2 separate regions of the Homo sapiens genome follow, and region 1 is linked to region 2. Evidence: promoter capture Hi-C in 16 types of primary human blood cells and fetal thymus (Javierre and others, 2016). All regions are on one chromosome and are shown on one strand. Each heading gives the region's core, a stretch centred on a gene start or on the middle of the fragment in contact. The rest is flanking DNA. Distances are from core to core; before and after follow the strand shown.

Region 1 (3,372 bases), core at 873-3,372, 3.8 Mb before region 2:
TATAATATTTAATATCCAAAAGTAATGTGAATATTTACCAACATTTTCCCAATATTTCATGGCATTCATTGACAAGATTGCTAAATTAAGAGGGTATTTTTTTCACATATTTATATCTGAACCAATCAAACAATATTACTAAAACCTACTGATCAGCACATAAATACAGCATCAGTATGAAGAAAAGACATAACTCATTTACTTTTCCTTTTAAAGGACATCTACCTAGAGCGGAAATAAACATTAAAAAAGCACAAGAGACTACTAAAATATTATACACAATCTTCATACTATAAATCCTCTTTCTACTAATTAAAATTCTTACCTTATTGTGTACTGAGGACAACATGTTTGATTCATGACAGGTTTGTACACATATTTTCCACTTCTAAAATTATAAAAATAGTTTGTTAATGTCTTATATATTTTTCACTTGCACCAAAACAGCCTAGCACAGGAGCATTAAATTAAGGTTAAAAATCTAATCAACATTGTAGAAATGCATGTAGGTTTAATTACTCTTCATAAGCCAAATAATCTTCAAAGTGCGTGTAGCAAAGTTTAGAACCCTGCCTTTTATTTCCTAAAGCTTTACTTGTGTACCCCACGGCCAATCATCTCAGTTCCCCTCTCACCAGCATCTGCCACCCCTGCTCTGCCTTCACCTGCCACCAATCCCCAATACCACAAGGGCAATGAGAGAAATGCCCACGATGCTGTGGGACTCATGTATGTGATGCCTGTGACAACCACACTTGGGTATTCCACATGCACCAGCACGGAGTACCCCAAAACTAACCCGCTTCTTTCCATGCATTCCAGGTCTATGGTACTAACAGAACTGTTCATTCTGTTCTCAAGTCAGAGACCTGGGAGTCATTTTAAACTCCTCCCTGGAATTCACCTCTATATCCTATTAGCAAGCTTTCCTTCATTTTAAACCCTATCCTAAATTGTCCCCTCTTCTCTATCACCATTGCCACTAAGGTGACAGTCCTCATCATCGCACATCTGGATAGCGCAATAACCTTTGAACTCATCTTCCTGCCTCTATGACCCCCCCTCAAATACCTCTCAGCCATCTGAACAATCTTTTCTAAAACAAATTCCTTCACATTTCTCTCTTACCATAAAATCCTTCCATGACTGCCTTCTAAAAAGTTCTGGCCAGGCATGGTGGTTCATACCTATAATCCCAACACTTTGAAAAGCTAAGCTGGAAGAACACTTGCAACCAGATGTTCGAGACCAGCACGGGCAACATAGCCAAGATCTTACAAAAAACTGAAAAATTAGCCAGGTGTTGTGATGCACACCTGTAGTCCTAGCCACTGCAGAGGCTGAGGCAAGAGGATCACTTGAGTGTGGGAATTTGGGGTTACAGTGAGCTATGATGATGGCACTGTACTCTAGCCTGGGCAAGAGAGCGACTCTAGCCTGGGCAACAGAGCGAGACCATGTCTCTAAAAAAAAAAGTTCCTTATCATGGCATGTGAAGTCCTTTAAAATCTGACCTATGTCTACCTTTTGAATCTCATTAAGTTTAAGGAAAGTTGTGATATTTCAGCTGGTGCTCCCAATCCCACGTCTTTGGCAAGTATTAGCGTACAGTATTTAATATTACTTATATTTACACAAGGAACTTTACCTAAGAGTTACTTAAAAATCATCCACATAAAAATAACTACTCAAAACAGGCCATGTGTGGACTTTAAGGAAATCCTTATCCAAATAAACTGTTAAAGAAGACATTTTTGAGACAATCTGGAAAATCTAATAAAAAGTAGGTAACAGGTAACATCAAAGAATTTTTATTAATTTTGTAAGGTGTGATACAGCATTGTGGATAAGTTAAAAAGAAAAAAAGACCTCTCTCTTAGAGATACATACTTATTGCCTATCTATTGATAGGATAAATGTCATAATAACCTACTGATGTAATTTGCTGTTAAATATTAAAAGGTGGAGCAGGAGAATCAAACATGATTGGCAGAACGTTAATAACTGCTGAAGCTTAGTGATAGGTACTTGAGGTTCATTCTAATGTACTCTCTGCTTTTATAGATATTTGACATTTTCCTAACAAAGTTTTTTAAAAAGGAGACAAAAAATCACTACATAAAAGAATATAATAAAAATTTTTCTTAAACCTCTTTCCAACAGGAAAGCATTTCAAAGGCATGCTGTATTTTTCAAGAACCTGAGTAACAGTAGGAAGTCTCTTTGTATCTGGAAGCTTTACCTTCGCCATCCTCGGTCTATGAGATCCTGATAATCCTGTACTGTCATGGAATGTGCCCACATGCCTGAAAAAATAAGTAGTGTGTTAATTACGGCAGGGTAACCTTTTTTCTTTTTTAAATTCAAAGTGTGAGGTTTAAAAATAGGAGTGTGTGTCCGGGCACGGTGGCTCATGCCTGTAATCCCAGCACTCTGGGAGGCCAAGGCGGGCAAATCACAAGGTCAGGAGTTCAAGACCAGCCTGGCCAACATGGTGAAACCCCATCTCTACTAAAAATACAAAAATTTAGCTGGGCATAGTGGCGGGCGCCTGTAATCCCAGCTACTCAAGAGGCTGCAGCAGGAGAATCACATGAACTCGGGAGGCGGAGGTTGCAGTGAGCCAAGATCACGCCACTGCACTCCAGCCCTGGCGACAGAGTGAGACTCCATCTCAAAAAAAAAAAAAAAAATAGGAGTGTTTAGGTTAAAATTCCAAAACACTCATATTGGATAAATGAAAAGTTTGTACATACTTCACAGCTGTTAGTTGGGCATACACACAGCACAAATAAAGAATGACACTATATATATTTTCATTCAAAAAAACACATCGAAGTTAATTATATTTATTTGAGGATTAGTCAATAGTCTCTATGACAGCATAAATTTAAGTCCTCACTGCAATCAGACTGCATCAGACCTTCAAACTTTAATAAATATCCCCAATGATTTAACATGCTGGTCTCTTCAGAAAACTTAGCAAAATGTTTTGTGCTTATTAGTTCTCCTGATTTATATACAGGTATATATTTACAGTACAGTCTTGAGCATCAAAAATTGGAGAAAAGTATGTAACAATATTCCTTCTAAGTGTAAGAACTGAAAGTAACTCAGCTGGGCACAGTGGCTCACGCCTGTAATCCCAGCACTTTTGGAGGCCAAGATGGGCAGATCATCTGAGGTCAGGAGTTTGAGACCAGCCTGGCCAACATGGTGAAACCCCATCTCTACTAAAAACACAAAATTAGCCGGGAATGGTGGCACATGCCTGTAATCCCAGCTACTTGGGAGGCTGAGGCAGGAGAATCGCTTGAACCCAGGAGGCGGAGGTTGCAGTGACTCGAGATCGAGCCATTGCACTCCACACTC
Region 2 (3,502 bases), core at 276-2,775:
AACTTGCAAAAACCAAAAAAGAATTATTGGCTGCAATATTCAAATGAAATGATAAAAATCAAAATCAATACATGTTGAAGTAAATGTCTACAAAATACACTATTATATCAAATTAACTGTTAAATTTAATTCACTATTATTATTTTTTTAAGACAGAGTCTCACTATCGCCCAGGCTGGAGCGCAGTGTTGCCATCTCTGCTCACTGCAACCTCTGCCTCCCAGGTTCAAGCGATTCTCCTGCCTCAGCCTCCCTAGTAGCTGGGATTACAGGCGCCCACCACCACATCTGGCTAATTTTTGTATTTTTAGTAGAGATGGGGTTTCACCCTGTTCGTCAGGCTGGTCTCGATCTCCTGACCTCAGGCAATCTGCCCACCTCGGCCTCCCAAAGTGCAGGGATTAAAGGCGTGAGCCACCGCGCCCGGCCTGTTAAATTTAATTCATAAAATTGTTTTGTTACATTTGAAAGCAATTTGTGAGTTGAATGCTTACTCATCAGGAGCATTCCTGAAAACGGACAGGACAGTGAGTTGTAAGAGCCAAACGTGAATTACAAATTGAGACAGCCAAATTGCAAGAGCCAAGTTAATTTTTAAAAACACTTTCTGTATCTTACGGCACAACAAAACACTTTTACTACAAAACATGTATTGTATAACGGATGTGGCTGCGTTTGACAGTTTGAGATGACACTGAGGAGTGTGAAAGAGAGCCTGGACCTTCAAAGCTTGCAAACGGCCCGGGCTATTTCTCCACCTCTTCGCTACTCAAAGCGCTGGCATCGTTTCCTGGGAACCTGTGAGAAATGCCGAGTCTCGGACCCATCCAGAGCGCCCGAATGGAAACCTAGGCGTTACGAGGCCCCAGGTTCAGCGTCTCACGGGTCCTGCACCACCTGGGACGCCCCGCAAGCAGCGGGCATGCCGGGCCCCCAGAAGACTCCGAAAGCCACCCATTCCCTAAACGGGGAGGGCCTCGTCCGCGCGTCCCAGCGCCCTCCCCGGAAGCCCCGCCGCTCCCACACCCAGGATGGGGCCACATGGGCACTAAAAGGCGGGCAGGAGCGCCCAGTCTCGAGATGGCTGGCTCGCCTTTCCAGTCCGGGCCCTCGGGGTGCCCGTGTGAAAAGATGTGACACTGAAGCCTGGGGAAGAAGTTTGAACCTCTCACTAATTCACGTAACGGGAGCCGCCGGCAGCGCTGACGGCTGCACCTCCCCTCCCACGCGGACACTACCTGCAGGATCGGACGACCCCCAGAACTGTTTGCCAACAAAGACATGCAGGGGGCGGAGCCTGAGCGTCAGATACCGTGAGCGGCGTGCAGAGGGCGGAGCCTAGGAGTCAGATACCGCGAGAAGTAGTCTCCCGAAGAGGTTCGGACAAGCGCAGGCGCACTACAATTCCCGCCCTGGCCGCGAAGGTGGCACCCGCAGCGGGAGGCGGGGCCGGGCCTTCGGGACAAAGATCGCGAGATTTAATGGCGAGTCACAGCTACTTCTTCCTGGCAGAGACCGGAAGTGCGGTCCGCGGAGCGTCTCTGGCGCTTACCCTGCTTTGGGCCTGCGTTGCTGCTGCTGCTCCTCCGCTCCCCCGTCGTATCGCCTGCCCTGGATCGAAGTGATGGGGGATGCCAAGGAGGCCGGAGCCGAGGGTCCGCCGGCCGGGGCCGCCGCTCGAGGAGGGCTCAGCCTCCTGTCCCAGGGAGAATCCGAGGAATCTTCTGCACAGGTGAGTCCTCCGCGGAGGGGGACCTGCCAGGGATGTGGGAGCGGAGGACCCGCTCCACCGGGGAGGGATGCCACGGTTCCCGGCAGATTCTGGAGGCTTCTCCATGTTTCCCTGACACCCCCAAAACAGGGAGTTGAAGTCCATGCTCCAGTCGGCAGGTATTCGTATTAAAAGCAGTTCTGGTAGCCGACAGGTGAATTAGATACGATCTTTCCTCTCAAGGAGGGTACATGTAAATATGTCGTTCCAAAACGTGGCACAGTCGTGCAAAGCAGGAGGGAAGAAACGGTGCCAGGTAGTGACTCGCCGAGAATGAGACCGAACTAATTCACAAAGGGTGTAAAATGTTTGCCATGCAGAAGAGGTACTGCGTGAAAGGTTAGAATATTGAACCCAGACGCCGAACTTGCTTTGGGAGTGTGCAAGTGCAGGCTGTGAGGAACGAACCCCCAATGCCTTTCTATGAAGTTAGAGACTCAAGAGTATTTGAACCATGCATGCATGCATGAACCGATGCATCGATTACTAAATATTTGCATTAAAACAAAAAGCCCAAATGTTCTACCAGACTATTTTATGAATGATGTGTTATTAAAATTAAAATACATCTTTGGCCGGGCGCGGTGGCTCACGCCTGTAATCCTAGCACTTTGGGAGGCCGAGGTGGGTGGATCACCTGAGGTCGGGGAGTTCGAGACCAGCCTGGCCAACATGGCAAAACCCTGTCTCTACTAAAAATACAAAAATTAGCCGGACGTGGTAGTGCACGCCTGTAATTCCAGCTACTAGGGAGGCTGAGGCAGGAGAATGGCGTAAACCCCAGAAGCCGAGGTTGCAGTGAGCCATGATTGCTCCACTGCACCCTAGCCTGGGCGACAAAGCAAGACTGCGTCTCAAAAAAAAAAAAAAAAAGAATTAAAATACATCTTTAATACTGAAAATAGGCTTTACTAAAGTTTGCATCTAGTTAACATGATACCATTGAGTCTCCTTGGTTTCTGCTTCTCCACTTTACATGAATACATTTTAAAAGAGATGTGGGTGGTCCATTTTCTAGCTGATAACCATAACCATCATACTCCTTGACTCATCTTTTTTCTTTGAAGTTGGTGTAAAAGAACTAAGTAAATGTTACCATTTATGCTCAAATTTATTAAGTGCTGTTAGTAACATGTGGCATACGTTCCTTGTGAAGCCTGGTGTGACAGGTTCTTGTTTTCTTTTTATAAAGGTGAGATTTTTCGTTCTTAGTAATTTTCATTAAAGTTTCACCCAATGTGTTAATTAGGGATCAGCTTTATTTCTTGGAGGCAATGAAGTGAAGAGCCGAGCTGTGGTGAAATACTCTTCTGCCCCTCCTCGAACAGCATTTGCACGCCTTGAAGAGAAAACAGACTTGAAACTCCCACCTGCCAACTGGTTACGAGAGAGTGCCAAACTAGGGCCAGCAGGAACTACCATTCTTGGCAACAGCAAGAAAAGCAAGCCATTTTCAAGGTAAATATTAATCAGTGGCATTTTTACCTGCCCCTCCACCCTCACTTAAAACTCTTATTTGCTTTTAAATTCAGTTTGTAATGCCTATTAACTTGTCGAGATTTCTCTTTAGAGAAAGATCACATTTGATTTTCAAAGGCTTTTTATTCTGATAATAGATGATGTTAAAACATGAAGATATACATACAATATCAATTGCATATGCTTCTTTTAAGTCTACGTCATGTTATCAGCAAAGATGAGTTTTGACTGCCAAAGTTCAATCAGCCCTTT

What was found. Contacts are between HindIII fragments. The CHiCAGO score rates a contact against its expected background, and 5 or more counts as called.
Region 1: a contact is called between a fragment that was not itself captured here and the fragment with the promoter of EDRF1 in region 2, in 2 of 17 cell types (total CD8 T cells and total B cells). The highest score is 8.3, in total CD8 T cells.

Annotation. Positions count from the first base shown.
Region 1 is chr10:121,922,024-121,925,395 of GRCh38, forward strand. It overlaps ATE1 (arginyltransferase 1), which reads right to left. Exons shown (of 12, transcript NM_001001976.3): 2 at 2,243-2,306; 3 at 326-388. Among named protein-coding and RNA genes, the nearest start is that of ATE1, 4.3 kb to the right of the region's middle. The HindIII fragment of the contact is 223 bases long and covers 2,012-2,234 here.
Region 2 is chr10:125,718,184-125,721,685 of GRCh38, forward strand. It overlaps EDRF1 (erythroid differentiation regulatory factor 1), which reads left to right and starts at 1,526. Exons shown (of 25, transcript NM_001202438.2): 1 at 1,526-1,732; 2 at 3,021-3,229. The coding sequence starts at 1,625. It overlaps EDRF1-DT (EDRF1 divergent transcript), which reads right to left and starts at 1,310. Exons shown (of 5, transcript NR_033847.1): 1 at 1,239-1,310. RefSeq lists enhancers at 642-751, 1,232-1,311, 1,427-2,409. The HindIII fragment of the contact is 5,171 bases long and covers 728-3,502 here.